Regions from separate parts of the Homo sapiens genome. Here regions 1 and 3 are each linked to region 2. The links are contacts of gene promoters, found by promoter capture Hi-C in blood cells and fetal thymus (Javierre and others, 2016). All regions are on one chromosome and are shown on one strand. Each heading gives the region's core, a stretch centred on a gene start or on the middle of the fragment in contact. The rest is flanking DNA. Distances are from core to core; before and after follow the strand shown. Region 1 overlaps COPA (coat protein complex I subunit alpha). Region 2 holds the start of CD244 (CD244 molecule). Region 3 holds the start of ATP1A4 (ATPase Na+/K+ transporting subunit alpha 4).

What was found. Contacts are between HindIII fragments. The CHiCAGO score rates a contact against its expected background, and 5 or more counts as called.
Region 1: a fragment that was not itself captured here is called in contact with the fragment with the promoter of CD244 in region 2 in 1 of 17 cell types (non-activated CD4 T cells); the score reaches 5.5 in non-activated CD4 T cells.
Region 3: a contact is called between the fragment with the promoter of ATP1A4 here and the fragment with the promoter of CD244 in region 2, in 2 of 17 cell types (total B cells and activated CD4 T cells). The highest score is 10.6, in total B cells.

Annotation. Positions count from the first base shown.
Region 1 is chr1:160,316,475-160,319,813 of GRCh38, reverse strand. All of the region lies in intron 8 of COPA (coat protein complex I subunit alpha), which reads left to right. It also overlaps the pseudogene SUMO1P3. Among named protein-coding and RNA genes, the nearest start is that of COPA, 25 kb to the left of the region's middle. The HindIII fragment of the contact is 2,829 bases long and covers 174-3,002 here.
Region 2 is chr1:160,861,195-160,864,398 of GRCh38, reverse strand. It overlaps CD244 (CD244 molecule), which reads left to right and starts at 1,512. Exons shown (of 9, transcript NM_016382.4): 1 at 1,512-1,782. The coding sequence starts at 1,722. RefSeq lists an enhancer at 1,647-1,696. The HindIII fragment of the contact is 2,100 bases long and covers 1,485-3,204 here.
Region 3 is chr1:160,149,447-160,153,149 of GRCh38, reverse strand. ATP1A4 (ATPase Na+/K+ transporting subunit alpha 4) reads right to left here and starts at 1,547. Exons shown (of 22, transcript NM_144699.4): 1 at 963-1,547. The coding sequence starts at 1,109. The HindIII fragment of the contact is 4,407 bases long and covers 1-3,555 here.

The sequences.
Region 1 (3,339 bases), core at 339-2,838, 540 kb after region 2:
TTTTTAAATTTCCTTCTTAATTTCTTCATTGATCCATTAGTCTTTCAGGAACATGTTGTTTAACTTACATGTGTTTGTATTTTCTGAGGTTCCTCTTGTTATTGATTTCTAGTTCTATTGTGTTCAGAAAAGATACTTAATATAATTTCTATTTTTTACAATTTTTTCAAGCTTGTTTTGTGGCCTAAAGTATAGTTTATTCTGGAGAGTGTTCCATGTGCTGATGAAAAGAATATTCTGTAGCCGTTGGGTGAAATGTTCTGTAAATTGCAGTTAGGCCTATTAGATCTAGTATGTAGTTTAACTCCACTGTTTCTTTGTTGATTTACTGTATGGATGATCTGTCTGTTTTTGAGAGTGGGGTATTAGCTCTCCTACTATTATCATATTGTAGTCTACCTCTCCTTTTGGATCTATTAGTGTTTGCTTTATATACTTGGGAGCTTTGGTGTTGGGTGCACAGATACTTATAATTGTTATTTCCTCTTGCTGAATTGACCCCTTTATCATTATATAGTGACCTTCTTTGTCTCTTTTTACAATCTTAGGTTTGGTAGTCTGTTTTATCTCATGTAAGTATAGCTACGCCTGCTCTTTTCTGGTTTCCAGTTTCATGGAATATCTCCCACTCCTTCGTTTTCAGTCTATGTGTGTCTGTATAGGTAAATGGGTTTCTTGAGGGCAGCATATAGTTAGGTCTTCTCTCTTTATCCGTTTAGCCACTCTATGCCTTTTAATTGAAGAATTGAGAGCATTTACATTCAGTGATATTATTGATAAGCAAGGACTTATTACTGCTGTTTTTTGCTTGTTTTCTGGTTTTGTTTTGTTTTTTTTTGAGGCTTCTCTCTTCCTTTTCTTACTGTCTTCTTTTGTGGTTAAGTGATTTTCTTTGGTAATATGTCTTAATTTGATGCTTTTTATTTTTAGTGAGTATATATTAATAGTTTTTGTGCTGTAATTACCATGAGATTCACAAAAAAAAATCTTATAGATAGAATAAGGTATTTTAAAGAGATGACAGCTTATTTTATATCACAAACACAAGAACAAAAACAAAGGCTAAAACACACTCAGAAATTATACATTTAACTCCATTTCTGTTCCTGCCTTTTTGACTATCTCTTTAACATGTTGCTATAGCTATTATTGCTTTTGATATATTTGTCTTTTGGGCTTCATAGTAAAGTTATAAGTGGATTGTGTACCACCATTATAGTAATATAGTCTTCTGGGTTTGTCTATGAACTTAATTTTACATCTTGGGTTTTATATCTTGAAAAGTTTTCTTTTTGCACATTAGTGTTTTTTTTTTTTTTTTGTTTTTTTTTTTTTTTTTTTTTTTACAAATATTGTTTATTTTAATGAAGCTGGTACAGACAATGTCCATTTAAAACCCATATCCCAGGCCAAAAAGTACAAATAAAATCAAAAAGAGCAGTGTTCTGTTGTATTCATTTCTGCATGTATAGCTTTATTAATTGCTAATGAAAATTAGAACTTTTCTGGGATCTTCTGACAAGATTTTTAAAAAATCTTAAAATGCCTTTTCTTCAATGAAGCCATCTTTGGAGTTAGTCATTACTCTCTCCTTATCAGTTATCTTGACTTCAACCCGATATTCCTCTTCTTTTGGTCCAGACCCTCAAATTTAAGAGTAGCTTGAAGTTAAGGAAAGGTCATTTTTCCACAGTTTCAGTTCTCTGAAACACTTCCATCTCCCACTGAAAGTCACAGTCCAGGAGTGAAGTAATCACATGCTAGAACATCAGGGCCAATTCGCAAGTTATTATGAACGCTTGCATTGGTCAATCTTATTTATCACCACAAGCCTGAAAATGCAATGTCCTGAAAAAGGTGGGCTCTCTGTGCACACGTAATTTTTAAAAAGGAGAGGGTAATATGAAGGGGACTGAGGCTTGATCACCAAAAATCAGCACAATGAAAATAAACAATAATGAATAATGAGCACTAGAATTCAGATTACCAGATGTTTCAAAGAGATGGGGTGCCAGTTTTCAATTCCGTTTTTAACACCACATTACAAAAGAACTATTTTTAAAAATGAGAAAGGATTGAGGGAAAAGAAAAAAAATAAAAAGAATATCTAAACTGTTGAATGACCCCCCATTTGTTCCTGATAAACTTCAATCACATCTTCTTCCTCCATTCCCAGTTCTTTTGGAGTATGATTATCAGCAATTCTCTGACCCTCAAAGAGAAACCTGAATGAATTCATTGGAACGCCCTGTCTTTGACAGTATGATTCTTTGAGTTTCTTGAGATGTGTTGTCATTTTCACTTTGAAGTGAATCTCACTGCTATCCTGTCCAATGACTTTGAGTTTAATATATTCACCTTCCTTCTTATCCCCCAAGTCCTCAGTTGAAGGTTTTGCCTCCTGGTCAGACATGATGACAGTGGCTTCACCCGGGGGTCTCCGCACAGCAGCGGCCTCGGGTAAGCAGAACCTCACTCCGGGGTTTACAAATCCTTCTCCCTTCCCCACAGCACAACACCGCAGCTGCAGTAACTTCCGCTACCACATTAGTGTTTTTTTCTTTCAGATCGAAGAACTACTTTTAACACTTACTGTAAGATGGATCTGGTGGTGGTAAATTCTCACCTTTTGTTTGTATGGGAAATACTATCCTTCATATTTGGAAAATAAAATAATCTTGCTGGGTACAGTATTCTTAGATGTCAGGTTTTTTCTTTGAGCACTTGGAAAATGTCATTCCTCTCTCTCTTGGCCTGTATGGTTTGCATTGAAACATCTATTGCCAGACAAATTGGAGCTCCTTTGTGTGTTCTTTGCTTCTTTTCTGTTGTGTATTTTAGGATCCTTTCTTTGTCCTTGACTTTTGAGAGTTTGACTTTTATATGCCTTAGGGTAGTCTTACTTGGGTTGGACCTGTTTGGTGTTCTCAGGCCTTCCTGTACCTGGATATTTCTTCCTCAAGTTTTGGAAAATTTTCTGTAATTATTTCTTTGAATAAGCTTTCTACGCTTGCTCTTGCTTAGCTCCCTCTTGAAAACCAATCATTCTTTTTTTTTTTTTTTGAGACAGAATTTTGCTCTTGTTGGCCAGGCTGGAGTGCAATGGTGCGATCTCAGCTCACCATGACCTCCGCCTCCCGAGTTCAAGTGATTCTCCTCCCTCAGCCTCCCGAGTAGCTGGGATTATAGGCATGCACCACCACACCCGGCTAATTTTGTATTTTTAGTAGAGACAGGGTTTCTCCATGTTGGTTAGGGTGGTTGCAAACTCCTGACCTTAGATGATCCGCCCACCTCAGCCTCCCAAAGTGCTATGATTACAGGCATGAGCCACCACGC
Region 2 (3,204 bases), core at 263-2,762:
TCTGAAGAAATTCCCCAGGGTTGAGGGCTGCCCCTTGGGAGCAGACAAAGGAGAGAAGAGATGATAACCATTAGACCCGCTGGAAAAAGCTATTCAGAGCTTAAAAAAATGAAAACAAAACCACAAAAACCTCATCTATGTCCAGTGTTTTTTGTGTGCATATTCTGGAGTATCATTTTTAATTTGATCCTGAAAACTGCCTTGTGAAGGTGGGGAGGATGTATTGTTGACCCTACAGGCTCAGACAGCAACAAGGCCAGAATCACATAGGTTGTAAGTTGCTGAATGGGAGCTGCAAGTCCAAGTCTTTGACTCTAAATCCAGCGCTCTGTCCAGAGCCCCGCTGCTGCCTCTGTTGGCAGCTGAAGCTGTCAGTCTGCTGCCCCCTGCCCAGTTCAGACAGGGTGGCTGGAAATGGACCAAAGGATGGAAAAAGAGAATAAGAGCGGACTTGAAGGGAACTGAAAGTATTTGTTAAGGGGAAAGCAGAAGGAAGAAAGAAAGAGGCATGAACCCTGGGGCCTGGCCTTGAAGCACAGTGTTCCAGGGGAGGGGGGATGCCGCTGTCCCCACCCCTCCATGGGGGCCTAAGCAGATCCAGAGCTGCCTGGCCTTCCTGGAGGGTGGCGTCCAAGCATGGATGGGAAGGCAGCAAAAATAGGCCCATGTCACTTCTGGGAGAAGACAAAAGAGGGAAGAGAGGACTACTATAGAAAAGTAGAAAAAGAGGAAGGGAGGGAATCTAGGCATACAGATCGGAAATGTGGAGCAAAACAAAATTTTTTTTTTTTTTTTTGAGACACAGTGTCGCTCTGTCACCTAGGCTGGAGTGCAGTGGCGTGATCTTGGCTTACCGCAACCTCCACCTCCTTTGCTCAAGTGATTCCCCTGCCTCAGCCTCCCAAGTAGCTTGGATTACAGGTGCACGCCACCCAGCCTGGCTAATTTCTCTATTTTTAGTAGAGGTGGGGATTCACCATATTGGCCAGGCTAGTCTCGATCTCCTGATCTCAAGTGATCTGCCTGCTTCAGTCTCCCAAAGTGTTGGGATTACAGGCGTGAGCCACTGTGCCCCGTGTGAAACAAATTCTTATGAAACAAATTTAATTTACATGTGCTTAAACTTTGGTGTCAACTTGCATGGAATCCCCAGGCTTGCTAGATTTTTCTAGTGCCTCCAGCCCTTAGGTCTCTTCCTATGTTCTCTCAGCTACTCCTCCTTTCCTTCAACACTGTTAGCCGCTTATCCAGGGCCCTACGTTTCAGCCCACTCCTCCTCCAGCCCCTCTCCACTCCACCTCCACAATGTCTGTTGGAATGGAACAGTTGGGGATACTGGCTGTTTGGCCCCCATGGGGGTCTCTCCATATAGGATTCAGAGAATTGGAAGACTTCTTGGGCTGAAGCAGAGAACGGGATGCAATTTTGAAACTGGCTTTGTGAGTCACTGTGAACTTCAAGCACCCTCCCACTTGAGGTAAGCTTCACCAGTTTGGCTTGTGGGAACTGTCAGACCAGCTCCAGGCGCTGGGGCTTTCTCAGTGGCCTTGTCAGCTCACAGCAGGCGTTAACAGCCTCTAATTGAGGAAACTGTGGCTGGACAGGTTGCAAGGCAGTTCTGCTCCCCATCGTCCTCTTGCTGACTGGGGACTGCTGAGCCCGTGCACGGCAGAGAGTCTGGTGGGGTGGAGGGGCTGGCCTGGCCCCTCTGTCCTGTGGAAATGCTGGGGCAAGTGGTCACCCTCATACTCCTCCTGCTCCTCAAGGTGTATCAGGGCAAAGGTAAGGAGGTCCTACCTGGCGTGGGGCGAGGGAGGGACTAGGAGCTGTGCCCCTCAGGGAGATCAGAGCCAGAGCCTCTGCTTGTGCCACATACACAGTCATCTGGAACTTGACTCCGAGCAGCTCCTGACAGCTCTGACAGTCTAAATCAGACAGGACAGGCTGGCAGTGCACTGGGAGGTCTGTGAGAGGGGTATCTGGCCCTGCCACCAGCAATCCAGGAAGTCTTGGGTGAGGAGATTCCTTCCCACTGGCTTCAATTTACCCTTCCGTGTAGTGGAGAGAGAAGCCTCCTTCCAGCCGCCTGTAAAGATGATGAAAATTGCATCCTCCAATTGTGGCATGAGAGAAGAGAAGCAGTCCCAAGGAAGTGGGTGGTTCTCGAGCTCAGAGACAGATGGATGGACCCCTGAGGCAGGAAAGCTGAGCCCAGGGAGGGGAGGGCGAGGCCAGCAGCCAGGAAGAAGCTGGAAGGCATGGTCCCTCATCTCCCCGGCTTCTTCAGCCATCCAGATGCCACAGGAGCCTGGAAATTATTAGGGACATGCAGGGTTGGGGCAGAAGAAGGAGACAATATGAGGAAGCTCCACAGCAAACCTAAAGCTGTCAGCCAGGCATGGAGCCATCTAACATTTACTCCTGGGGATCCCAGCTGAGGGCTGCTCCCCTCTTTCTCCAGTTCTGGGGTCCAGGATGCTCTGAAACCTGGATCCCGCATTTAATTTAATTGAATTAATTTATTTATTTCATTTTTAATTTTTATTTATTTATTTATTTTTTGAGACAGAGTCTCCTTCTGTCACCCAGGCTGGAGTGCAGTGGCGTGATCTTGGCTCACTACAAACTCTGCCTCCCGGGTTCAAGTGATTCTCATGCCTCAGCCTCCCGAGTAGGTGAAATTACAGACGTGCGCCACCATGCTTGGCTAATTTTTGTATTTTTAGTAGAGACCAGGTTTCACCATGTTGGCCAGGCTGGTCTTGAACTCCTGACCTCAGGTGATCTGCCCACCTTGGTCTCCCCCATCCAAAGTGCTGGGATTACAGGTGTGAGCCACCATGCCCAGCCAGGGTTCTGCATTTTAGATCAGTGACTCTGCAGGGGCTTCACGGAGGTGGAGAGCGTGGAATTAGAGGAGGGTACACTCTGGGCACAAAGAGGGGAAACTGAGGCATAGTGTTGTGTGGGTTCAGGGCCAGGTAGAAGCCCCATATGCAATAAAGTCCCATGCCCAGGTACTCAATTCAGTTACCGAGTCCCTGAGCATTCTTGTGTCCTTCAGGAAGACACAGTCAAGGCTCAGGTGGACTCAACATTTGTAAGGATGCAGGCAGCCTAGGGCAGAGCATGATGAGGAACAGGGAGCAGGGAGGGAGGAGTGGAGCCTGCAGCTCTTGTGGGTGGGTTGGGGGGCCTAGTGGC
Region 3 (3,703 bases), core at 298-2,797, 710 kb after region 2:
AGGCATTGAGGGACAGGGGGTGGCCCAGGTCATTTCCAGGGAGAGGGGGAGAAACAGACTGGAGAATGTTAGTCCAAACTGAGACTGCTCCATTTTGTAAGCTCCCTGCAATTCTTTTTTTGAGATGGAGTCACTCTGTTGCCCAGGCTGGTGTACAGTGGTGCGATTTCGACTCACTGCAACCTCTGCCTCCCAACAGGTGTTTCTCCTGCCTCAGCCTCCCAAGCAGCTGGGATTACAGGGGCCCATCACCAGGACCAGCTAATTTTTGTATTTTTAGAGGCGGGGTTTCACCATGTTGGCCAGGCTTGTCTCAAACTCCTGACCTCAGGTGATCTGCCTGCCTCAGCCTCCCAAAGTGCTGGGATTACAGGTGTGAGCCACCACGCCCGGCCTAGCTCCCCACTATTTTACAGGCCTTGGTCAAAGTGAAACATTTCACGGGGGTTCGGGCCAGAGAAACAGCCTGCCTAACCACCTGACCACAGGGCAGACGAAGGCCCAATTAAAGACAAAGACCCCACTAAAGAAACATCCCTATCACATCCTGCTGGGCAAAGGTCCAGGGAATACCATGATTATATTCTGTGGAAACAAGGGCCAAAAATCACCTCATCATGAGAACATCTTATCGATATCCTGCCAGGCAGCAGGCCATACAGCCCAGACTCCTCCCATCCATCCCTATAAGTACCCAGCCTGTAAGTGGCAGTGGACTGTGGAATTAAGCTGATCCCCCACTTCCACAGGTGTCTGCAATATACCTGTGCTTGCTGTTGAGCTGCCCTGTCTCTCTGTGTGTATCTTTTTTTTTTTTTTTAACCCTCTCCTTCCCTCCAAAGCCTAACAGAGAAGAGATGTGGCTCTGGCCTGTGTGTTTCATTCTCAAGGTAAGATGTTAAAGATAGGTGGAGGAGTGTTTTCAGAGGGCAGCTGTCAGCGCCCACTTTGGGTGGCCTCACCATGACCACTTCCTTCTTCAGTTCCTCCATATTGCGCTTCTGTTTTTCCCTCTTCACCATTTTTTTCTTGATAAGCCCTTTTTTAGGTCTTCGTCTTGGACTCTGGTCATGGGGAGCCACTGTCCCTTTCTTCCCCCAAAGCCCCATAGCTATCCCCAGAAAGAGCTGCCCGAGCTCAACTGTGGGAAGAAAGCTGAGAGAGTGAGGCAAGGGGAAGGGAAGAGGGCGCGCGGGCAAGGGGGCCACGAGAAGAGAGTGGTGGGGAGAGAATGAGGGAGCAGAAAGAAAGAGGCAGGGAGGGAGGTGTTGGGTGGTGAAGGTGAGAGAGAGGAAGGGAAGTGAGAGAGGAGAGACTGAGCGGTCCTCCAGCCGTCCGCTGGGAAGAGGAAGAGTCAGGAGTGAGGGAAGAGGGAGGAGAGAAGCCTAGGGTGGAAGGATAAAAAGGTAGAGGTGAGGGAATGCAGTGAGGGCAGGAAACAAGAGGTGAAGCGTAACCAGGTGCCTCAGTGATGAAGATGCCGCAAGGCCCACAGGAAGGTGGGAAATGCAGTGAGAGTGAGGAGGCGGAGTGAGCTTCAAGGATCTGGGAACCCCCCAGTCCCAGGCCCTGTGGTTGCTGGGGCAATGACCCAGGTCTGGCATCACAAAGGCCTCCTGAAAGTTCTAACCAAGAATCCAGAAGTCTTGCCTTGGCGATGGTCCAGGTCTGCTGTCGCAAAGGCCTCATGAAGGTTTTAACCAAGAACCTAGAAGTCTCAGTCTTTGGGTTTGAGGACGATTGGAGCAGGCCCTGCTACAGAAAGAGTTTCAGTCTGAGGGCAGAACTAGAACAAAGTTCTTGTGTGGTCCTGCAGACTTTGGAGGCTTAGAGGTATGCCAAATAGATGACTCAAAAATAAAGCGGGTATTCGGCCGGGCGCGGTGGCTCATGCCTGTAATCCCAGCACTTTGGGAGGCTGAGATCGAGACCTTCGTGGCCAGTATGGTGAAACCCCATCTCTACTAAAAATACAAAATTTAGCCAGGTGTGGTGGTGGGCACCTGTAATCCCAGCTGCTCGGGAGGCTGAGGCAGGAGAAACATCTGAATCCAGAAGGCAGAGGTTGCAGTGAATTGAGATTGCATCACTGCACTCCAGCCTCGGTGACAGAGTGACTCCATCTCAGACAAACAAACAAACAAACAAACAAACAAACAAACAAACAAAAAACCATAGCAGGGAGCTTACAAAATGGTGCAGTTGCAGTTTGGACTAATATTCTCCCGTCTGTTTTTGAGACTCCATCTCAAAAAAAAAAAAAAAGCAGGTACTCTGTGTGTGTTTTTTAGCAAGGCACACTTTTCCACTAACATTGGGTTTGATCTTTTAATTTTAGGAGATCAGCTAGCAGAATAGATCAGATCTTGGGCTCTGGAACCAGTCCTGGATTTCAATCCCAACTCCTCCACTTGTCAGCTGTGTGGCTTTGAGCAAGTTACCTAACCTCTGTACCTCTCTTTTCTTATTTTTAAAAGAGGATACCTTCTACCTTAAGTGAGGTGCTCTACAAAAAGCACTATGTGACATATATAGTATGTGCTCAATAGGTAGCTTGAATTCAGTAGTAGTTTTATTTGTGGATTAATATGCAGCTCTTCTCAGTGAGGGTAAAAATATGCTTTTCCATGTGATAGCGTTGCATTTTCTCATTTTAAAATGATGTACTTACCTCTTCCATTGACCTTCTCTGGTGTCTCAGTAAGTGCTTTGACTATATTAACTGTATATATGTTTTGCATGTCCATAGGATTCTACCTCCTTCCAAGAATAATCTGAAGCATCTATACTTTTCTGTCAACCATTATATATATTTTTCAATTATGCACGTCACATAGATTTTCCCATTCTGTTGTTTGATATTTGTTTATTTACTTTTTGAGACAGGATCTCACTTTGTTGCCCAGGCTGGAGTGTAATGGTGCGATTATGGCTTACTCCAGCCTCAACCTCCCAGGTCCAAGTGATCCTCCCACCTCAGCCTCCCAAGTAGCTGGGACCACAGGCATGTGCCACCATGCCCGGCTAATTTTTTTTATTTTATTTTAGTAAAGACGGGGTGCCCCTGTGTTGCCCAGGCTGGTCTCAAACTCCTGGGCTCAAGCAATCCTTGGCCTTGGCCTCCTAAAATGTTGGGATTACATAAGTGAGACACCAAGCCTGGCCTGATATTTATTTAATTGCATTTTGGTTGGGCATGCTTTTTAAAAATATGACTGTATCTGGAAACATTCATCTTGGTGCTGATGCAATCCTCCTTGAATATTCAGAAATAGAAATGCTCCCTTCCCAGCTGGGATAAATGATCGTCTATTTCTTTAACAGATTGGATTTTTCTTCTCTATTAAAAATGTTTAAGATAAAAATTGAAAGCCCCACCTTCCCTCCCTCCAAACTCAGATTCTCCCCACTGCTGAAGTTACTGCTGGTAACAATGTGCTGCATGTCCTTCCAGTCTTTTTTCTATGTTTATACAAATAGATATCTAAAAGGAGGTATTTTTCAACTTTTAAACAATCATTCAACTCTCTACCAACCTGTCATGTACATAAAGCTTCTTTTTTTCAGTGCTGTGAGGCTTCCATATTCTGTATTGACCATGCTCTATTCAATCATTCCCATTACTGATGGATTTATGAGATATTTTCCATTTTTTTAACCATTAATAAAATTGCTAGAGTGTCATTCTTGCACATAGATATCA